Linked DNA regions of Homo sapiens: regions 2 and 3 are each linked to region 1. The links are contacts of gene promoters, found by promoter capture Hi-C in blood cells and fetal thymus (Javierre and others, 2016). All regions are on one chromosome and are shown on one strand. The core of a region is centred on a gene start or on the middle of the fragment in contact, and the rest is flanking DNA. Distances in the headings are between cores, read along the strand shown. Region 1 holds the start of TEX19 (testis expressed 19). Region 2 holds the start of FASN (fatty acid synthase). Region 3 overlaps WDR45B (WD repeat domain 45B).

Region 1 (2,700 bases), core at 15-2,514:
ACAATGGAATACCATTCAGTGTTAAAAAATAAGTGAGCTGGCCATGCAAGGTGGCTCACGTCTGTAATCCCAGCACTGTGGGAGGCAGAGGCAGGCGGATCACTTGAGCCCAAGTGTTTGATACCAGTGTGGGCAACATGGTGAGGCCCTGTCTCACAAAAAATACAAAACTTATCGGGGTGTGCACCAGCACCTGTAGTCCCAGCTATTTGGGAGGCTGAGGTGAGAAAATCACAGGAGCCCAGGAGGTTGAGGCTGTAGTAGCTGTGATTTCACCAGTGCATTCCAGCCTGGGTGACAGAGCAAGACTCTGTCTCAAAAAAAAAAAAAAAAAAAAAAAGAAGTGAACTATCAAACCACAAAAGACATGGAAGAACCAAAGTGCGTATTACTAAAAAAGAAGTTGAAAAGGCTACATAATGTATGAGTCCAGCTCTGTGACATTTTGGAAAAGGCAAAATTAAGGAGACAGTCAAAAGATTCCTGGTTGCCAGGGGCTGGGAGAGGGAGTGATGAAAATGCAGAACACAGATGAATCGGGGCGGAGAAACCCGTCTGTACAATATTAGAGTGGTGGGTCTGCATGATTATACATGTGTCCAAACCTGCAGAATGCACAGCACCGGAGGAAAGCATAATGGAAACTGCAGAGGGCGATGATGATAATAACAACGTGTAACAAATGGCTGGGACGGGAGGACTGGGGAAGGCTGTGCACCTGCAGGAGCAGGGGAGCGGTGGGAGAGCTCCATGCTTTTGGCTCAATTTTGCTATGAACCTAAAACTGCTGTAAAAAATAGAGTCTACTGAAAAAACAAGTGTTAATTTATAAGCGTCTTGTTTAAAGAGCGAAGAGATGAACCACAAAGGGGAAAATGTGTTTAAACAATAACTAATTGACAATTGGCTGGTTCTTAAAATTCAGAGAACTTTAAGACAGAGACAGCAAAGCAGGGATCACGTTTTACAAACGCGGCAGGACCAGGACGTCGTGCCCACGACGGGCCAGCAACCACAGGCTGGATGCTCACCCTGTGCCAGCCTGCAGACGGAGAGCACCCACCCCAATCTCCAGCCCCCAGAGGAGCTGCCTCTCCAGGGCCTTCCTGCAGGTGCCCAGGGGCTGCACATGGCCCTCCTTGGAGGGAGCTGGTGACTCAGCACTTTCATTTCCTGGAAACTGAGGCTCATGGGAGATATGCAGATGAGCCCAGAGCACCATGGGAAATGGCCCTTTATATACCCAAATGGGCTCTGCCTCCTCCTTTCCCTGGGTGCCCACATGAACAGAGACACCAGGATGGTGAGATCTCCCGAGGAGGGGTCTCTGAGGAGGGGTCTCGGAGACACGGCCTGGTGCTGGGTGAGGGGTTGGGAGGCTGAAGCGGGGCCAGGATTCCTCAGGTTCCCTCAGTTTCCCTCAAATTTCCCTCAGTTTCCCTCAGGTTCCCTAAGGTTCTCCAAGTTCCCTCAAATTTCCCTCAGTTTCCCTCAGGTTCCCTCAGTTTCCCTCAAGTTTCCCTCAGTTTCCCTCAGGTTCCCTCAGTTTCCCTCAGGTTCCCTCAGTTTCCCTCAAGTTTCCCTCAGTTTCCCTCAGGTTCCCTCAGTTTCCCTCAAGTTTCCCTCAGGTTCCCCCAGTTTCCCTCAAGTTTCCCTCAGCTTCCCTCAGGTTCCCCCAGTTTCCCTCAGGTTCCCTCAGTTTCCCTCAAGTTTCCCTCAGTTTCCCCCAGTTTCCCTCAAATTTCCCTCAGTTTCCCTCAGGTTCCCTCAGTTTCCCCCAGCTTCCCTCAGGTTCCCTCAGTTTCCCTCAAGTTCCCCTCAGTTTCCCCCAGTTTCCCTCAGGTTCCCCCAGTTTCCCTCAAGTTCCCCTCAGGTTCCCCCAGTTTCCCTCAAGTTTCCCTCGGGTTCCCCCAGTTTCCCTCAGGTTCCCCCAGTTTCCCTCAGTTTCCCTCAAGTTTCCCTCAGGTTCCCCCAGTTTCCCTCAGGTTCCCTCAGTTTCCCTCAAGTTTCCCTCAGGTTCCCCCAGTTTCCCTCAGGTTCCCTCAGGTTCCCCCAGTTTCCCCCAGGTTCCCCCAGTTTCCCCCAGTTTCCCTCAAGTTTCCCTCAGGTTCCCCCAGTTTCCCTCAGGTTCCCTCAGTTTCCCTCAAGTTTCCCTCAGGTTCCCCCAGTTTCCCTCAGGTTCCCTCAGTTTCCCTCAGGTTCCCCCAGTTTCCCCCAGGTTCCCCCAGTTTCCCCCAGTTTCCCTCAAGTTTCCCTCAGGTTCCCCCAGTTTCCCTCAGGTTCCCTCAGGTTCCCCCAGTTTCCCCCAGTTTCCCTCAGGTTCCCCCAGTTTCCCTCAGGTTCCCTCAGTTTCCCTCAGGTTCCCCCAGTTTCCCTCAGTTTCCCCCAGTTTCCCTCAAGTTTCCCTCAGGTTCCCCCAGTTTCCCTCAGGTTCCCTCAGTTTCCCTCAGGTTCCCCCAGTTTCCCTCAGGTTCCCTCAAGTTTCCCTCAGGTTCCCCCAGTTTCCCTCAGGTTCCCTCAGGTTCCCTCAGTTTCCCTCAGGTTCCCCCAGTTTCCCTCAGTTTCCCCCAGTTTCCCTCAAGTTTCCCTCAGGTTCCCCCAGTTTCCCTCAGGTTCCCCCAGTTTCCCTCAGGTTCCCTCAGTTTCCCTCAGGTTCCCCCAGTTTCCCTCAGGTTCCCTCGGGTTCCCTCAAGTTTCCCT
Region 2 (2,700 bases), core at 142-2,641, 260 kb before region 1:
GGGGGCTCACAGTGAGGAGCAGGCAGGGTCACCTGAGATGGGGACAAGGCCTCAGGTGGCCAGCCTGCTAAGGGCCATCAAAGAAATGGAGAGGCAGGGTCCCAAAGCCGGGGCATGGAGGTGGCTGGGAGCCCTAGAGGGGGGTACTCAGCACCCATGCTCACCCGTGTTGGGGTGGGGGCCCGCTGTCCAGGCCAGCCCAAGAGCCACCAGGGCTGGGGAGGGACGAAATGGGGATAGCCTATGCTCTGGGGGAAAGGTGGCCCCTGCCCCACTGTGGACCGACCCAGCCAGTCCAACCCCTCCAGCAGGGTCCAACCTGGAGAACCACTCCTGGCCAGGACACGCAGGTGTTGCCTGGCACCCTTCACCTGCGCGGGTGAACCCACAGACGCTTGCCTCCCCATACCAACCCACACACCACAGGAGGCCCTCCCTGGAGCCCAGGTCCCTAAGACCCGGAACGGGTGCCCAGGCCGCCGGCTCCTCCTCCAGCATGAGGGCTGGTGCGGCCCTGGGGGGAGGGGGCGGAGGCCAGCGCTGGTCTGGCCACTTGCACGAGGCCCCAGGGCCTGATACGCGCGCCGCCCCTCGGCAGTGCGGCCTCCCTTGGGCCGTCCCGGCAGGGAGGCGGCCGCCTTCCCACCCGCTGCGATTCACAGAGGCTTGGCTGCCCCGGGCCAGCTCCAGGCCCGCACGCTGGGTCCTCGCCGCTTGCTATTCACGCGGGGTCGACGGCCAGGCAGGGGGTGGGAACACCGCGGCGCGCCCGGCCTCCCTTCGCCCCGGGCGGGGGCTGCTCGGGACCCCTGCGCTTCGGCCGGGCTGCGCCACGTGATGGGGAGGCCGGTCCCGGCGCGGCCCCTGCGCCCCCCCGTTCCTCCCTCGCGGCGTCCCCTTCGGGCTGGGCCTCGGCTCCGGGGCGGCTCCGGGAGGAGGATGCGGCGGCGCCTTTGTGGGCGCGGGGAGGCCGAGCCGGGGGCTCCTCCAGGCCCTTCAGGGTCCGCGGCCTCCCCCACGGGAAGCGAAGGCGGCTGTTGGTGGCTTTCCCCGGCGTCCTTCCCCCGCCATCCGCCCACCTACTCCGCGGGGCCCCGGGCGCCTCCGAAGGGGCACGAACACCGAGACCCGGACAGGCCGCCCAGGCGACCCCTGGATACGGGGCCGGGCCACGCGCGCCCCGAGAGCGGAGGATGAGGAGCCGGGCCACCCCGGGAACCCCGGGCCCAGCCCCGACCACGACCCGCGCCCCGGCCCCAGCGCCGGCTGCTCGTACCTGGTGAGGGCGCGGGCGGCGGTGCGGGCGGCGGAGAGCGAGGCTGGAGCGCGGCGGAGCGGGAGGCTGAAGCGCGGCGGAGAGGGAGGCCGGGGCCGCTGCCGTCTCTCTGGCTCCCTCTAGGCCGGCGCCGACGCTATTTAAACCGCGGCCATCCCCGGGCGGCCACGCCACATGGGCTGACAGCTTGGCTGCGCCGCCCAGGCCAATGAGCGTCGGGGCTGCGCCCCGGGACCCGGCGCGCCGCCGCCGGTGGGGTGATGCTCGTGCGCGCCGCCGCCCGAGCCGGGACCCTGCGCGGGAACGCGCCTGGGGGGGTGGGGCTGGGACTGAGGAGCGCCGGGGGCGGGGCGGGCGGGAAACCACCGCCCCCCGACTTCCGCCTCCCGCCCCGCGGGCCCCGACGCGCACGCGGCTGCGACCGAGCCCGCGGCGCGCCTCCCGAGCCATCCCCGACCCCCGTGTCCGCCGGGGCCACGTGTGCGGGATGGGAATGCTTGGGCCACACTGGGGACTACCCCGTGGCCACACCGGGGGTCCAGCCGGCTGCGGCGGGGCGCTCGGACCCACAGGCGCGCGGAAGGACGGACGGACCCGCGTGCCCGCACTTCGGCCGCCGACTCCACGCCGCCGTCGCTGCCCGCGCGGAGCTGGCTGAGGGCGCGGCGTTGCGCGGCGCGGCGGCAGCAGCAACCAATCGGGCGCCAGGGGTGTTCGCACCGGCCCAATGGCGGCGCGCGGGTGGGCGTTGCTAGGCGATAGGGTGATGGGCGGGCGGCGGGGCGGTCCCGGATGCCTCGCGGGCCGCGGCGCAAGTGCGGGCGTTGACCCCGGCCGCGGGCGCCCCGGCCGGGGTTACTGCCGGTCATCGCAGCGCATCCCCGGTTTTCCTCGCGGGTGCGGCGGGGAACCCAGACCCGAGACGGACGTCCACCCACCCGACGGCCCCTCCTTAGCAGCTTCCCGGGGACCCGGACGAGGCGCAGGGCCGAACGGGCGAGCGCACTCCAGGCCGCTGGAGCTCGGCGGAGGGGAGGGGCGCGGCCACGTGGCGAGCGGAGTCGGCCGGGACACCCACCTGGTGTGGTGCGGACAAAGGGAGCCGCTGCCCCACTTCCCAGGGCGGAGGCTGCGAGTTTTCCAGGCGCGCACCCACGGGCGGGGGCTCAGCCCGGCCCTCGCGCGCTCCCTCCCTCCCGAGTGATTCCTCGAATCGTGGCCCCTTGGGCGGCCTGAGCCCTGAAGCGCGGCCTCCCTTTTCTGACCGCTTCGCGCTTGCGGGGCCAGGCACCCCATGGGGGGCAAGCGGGCCTTGTGAGGCCACAGGTGTCTCTGGCTGCGTGTCCTACTTTGAGGGCTCAGCAAGCCCGGGCCGCTGAAGGGGAACCGGAGACTGGGGCCCCCGGCCCCTCTGCAGGTGTCCC
Region 3 (2,700 bases), core at 142-2,641, 270 kb after region 1:
GAAGAGACTGTTCTTTTTTTCTTTAGTCTCACTCTGTCGCCCAGGCGGGAGTGCAGTGGCACAATCTCGGCTCACCGCAAGCTCCGCCTCCCGGGTTCAAGCAATTCTCCTGCCTCAGCCTCCCAAGTAGCTGGGACTATGGGCACCCGCCACCACATCCAGCTAAGTTTTGTATGTTTAGTAGAGATGAGGTTTCACCACGTTGACCAGGATGCTCTCTATCTCCTGACCTCGTGATCCGCCCGCCTTGGCCTCCTAAAGTGCTGGGATTACAGGCGTGAGCCACTGCGCCCGGCCGACTGTTCTGTCTTGACTGTGACGGTGGCTACACAACTGTTTACAATGACGGAAATTTATTGAAGTTTTTTTTTTTTGAGATAGAGTCTTGCTCTATCGCCCAGGCTGGAGTGCAATGGTGTGATCTCGGCTCACTGCGACCTCTACCTCCTGGGTTCAAGTGATTCTCCTGCCTCAGCCTCCCAAGTAGCTGGGACTACAGGTGCCCGCCACCACGCCCGGCTAATTTTTTGTATTTTTAGTAGAGACAGGGTTTCACCGTGTTAGCCAGGATGGTCTTAATCTCCTGACCTTGTGATCCGCCCGCCTCGGCCTCCCAAAGTGCTGGGATTACAGGAGTGAGCCACCGCGCCCGGCCACAAATGGTATTCTTAAAACGAGTCAGTTTTTTGTAAATTTTACCCTAACAAAGCCAGAGGCAAAACCCCCAATATAAAAAGATATGAAGATGGTACAATAAATGACAAAGTCAAACACAATCAATCCTCCAATTCAGAAGACAAGGGAAGGAAAGGCTTGAGTCCAGAACTCAGTGGCTCCCGAAGTGGTGAAAACATAGGTTCCTGGTTCACTGTGGAGGTTCTGAGAGCCCATAGTCACTGGGTGGGAGGGGACAGGGGCCCCCACTCTGTGACTCTGGTCAGAAGGTAGTTTGGGGATGCTGAGCTGTGGGTCCTGGAAGGTCCATCTCCTCTGGAGGCCCCTCTGTGCTCAGGATTGCTCTCGCCAAGCACTTTGCTCAGAGACCTGCTTGGAGAAGGGAGTGCCCAGCACAGGCATCTCCATGTGGACCCATTTCCCATCGCCACCCGTCTGCTCAATCTCTCACCTTTGGGGTTATAGCAGGTTTCGAAGACGTGCAACTGATGGGGATTGTGTGTGAATGTGAACACCTTAATCATGGAGTCCAAAACCACCACAATTCTGGAAAGAAAAACATGATCAGAGTTGCTTTCCTCAAGAGTCAAACCCAAACATTTTATGCTCCTGTTCTTATCATACTGAAACTGAGAAACACTGAAAATACCACACAGAAAAGGAGTGTTCCTGAAGAAAAAGCTCTGGAGGCAGGTAGCCAGCGCCAGGCCTGGAGCTCGGCGAGTGCACGTGGGCTGGCTCTGCTGAGGGAGTGCTTCTCGCCTGGGTGAAGGTCAGCCTAAGAGACGTCTCTGAGGTTCAGAGAGACATCATCAAACACTCCATCTAGGTTCAGAACCGAGCAAAACAGACAGAAGTGATATTTTTATGCTACTGTGTCTGGAAAAAATAAGAAAAGTCTGAAAGTAGAATATCCTCGATCTGGCTCAAGCGTTTGCATTATTATTATTATTACTTTTTTTTTATAGATGGAGTCTCACTCTGTCGCTCAGGCTGGAGTGCAGTGGCACAACCTCAGCTCACTGCAACCTCCACCTCCAGTTCAAGCGATTCTCCTGCCTCAGCCTCCTGAGTAGGTGGGATTACAGGCGTGCACCACCATGCCCAGCTAATTTTTGTATTTTTAGTAGAGATGGGGTTTCACTAGGTTGGCCAGGCTGGTCTCTAACTCCTGACCTTGTGATCCGCCTGCCTCAGCCTCCCAAAGTGCTGGGATTACAGGCATGAGCCACGGTGCCCGGCCACATTTGCATTACTAAGGGCCTTTAAATATTGACGTTATTAAAATGACAAACCCACACAAAAATGCAGGAAAGTTGGCCGGGCGCAGTGGCTCACACCTGTAATCCCAGCACTTTGGGAGGCTGAGGCGGGTGGATCATGAGGTCAAGGGATCAAGACCATCCTGGCCAACATGGTGAAACCCTGTCTCTACTAAAGATACAAAATCAGCCAGGCTTGGTGGTGTGCGCCTGTAGTCCCAGCTACTCCGGAGGCTGAGGCAGGAATTGCTTGAACCCGGGAGGCAGAGGTTACAGTGAACTGAGATTGTGCCACTGCACTCCAGTCTGGCAACAGAGCAAGACTCTATCTCCCAAAAAAAAAAAAAAAAAAAAAAAAAGGGCAGGGAGGTGAAATGACCTCTGTTTACATCCAACTTGCTCGGCTGCTGTCCTCCCACAGCCGACAGAGATGGAAATCTTAGAGTAAAATATGCAAATCATATTAAATAAAAACCCAAATGAACGAACTCTGCGCTATCTTGCTCAACGTACTAGGACAAACTTCCATATTCCCCCTAAACGCCCCTGAGACCATGGCTGACAGAACCACCTGCTACTTTCAACACAGAAAATTCAATTTTCCTTTACCTTCAAACCGAAAACCTTTATTGAGAGGCAGCATTTGGCAAAGCAGGGGCTAAAAGCCCAGGGTAATTCAAGGCTCAAAACTCATGTCCTCAGCTCTGCACATGTCGGAATGGGACATAACTCACCACGGTGAGACCCACTGGCTGGTCCACTG

Evidence for each region. Contacts are between HindIII fragments. The CHiCAGO score rates a contact against its expected background, and 5 or more counts as called.
Region 2: a contact is called between the fragment with the promoter of FASN here and the fragment with the promoter of TEX19 in region 1, in 8 of 17 cell types (neutrophils, non-activated CD4 T cells, monocytes and 5 more). The highest score is 13.3, in neutrophils.
Region 3: a fragment that was not itself captured here is called in contact with the fragment with the promoter of TEX19 in region 1 in 1 of 17 cell types (activated CD4 T cells); the score reaches 5.1 in activated CD4 T cells.

What each region holds. Positions count from the first base shown.
Region 1 is chr17:82,357,983-82,360,682 of GRCh38, forward strand. It overlaps TEX19 (testis expressed 19), which reads left to right and starts at 1,265. Exons shown (of 2, transcript NM_207459.4): 1 at 1,265-1,303. RefSeq lists a silencer at 2,451-2,700. The HindIII fragment of the contact is 12,499 bases long and covers 1-2,700 here.
Region 2 is chr17:82,096,845-82,099,544 of GRCh38, forward strand. It overlaps FASN (fatty acid synthase), which reads right to left and starts at 1,392. Exons shown (of 43, transcript NM_004104.5): 1 at 1,277-1,392. RefSeq lists an enhancer at 1-616 and silencers at 485-534, 595-804, 825-1,014, 1,085-2,564. The HindIII fragment of the contact is 59,862 bases long and covers 1-2,700 here.
Region 3 is chr17:82,624,263-82,626,962 of GRCh38, forward strand. WDR45B (WD repeat domain 45B) reads right to left here. Exons shown (of 10, transcript NM_019613.4): 5 at 1,127-1,221. Among named protein-coding and RNA genes, the nearest start is that of WDR45B, 23 kb to the right of the region's middle. The HindIII fragment of the contact is 5,498 bases long and covers 1-2,700 here.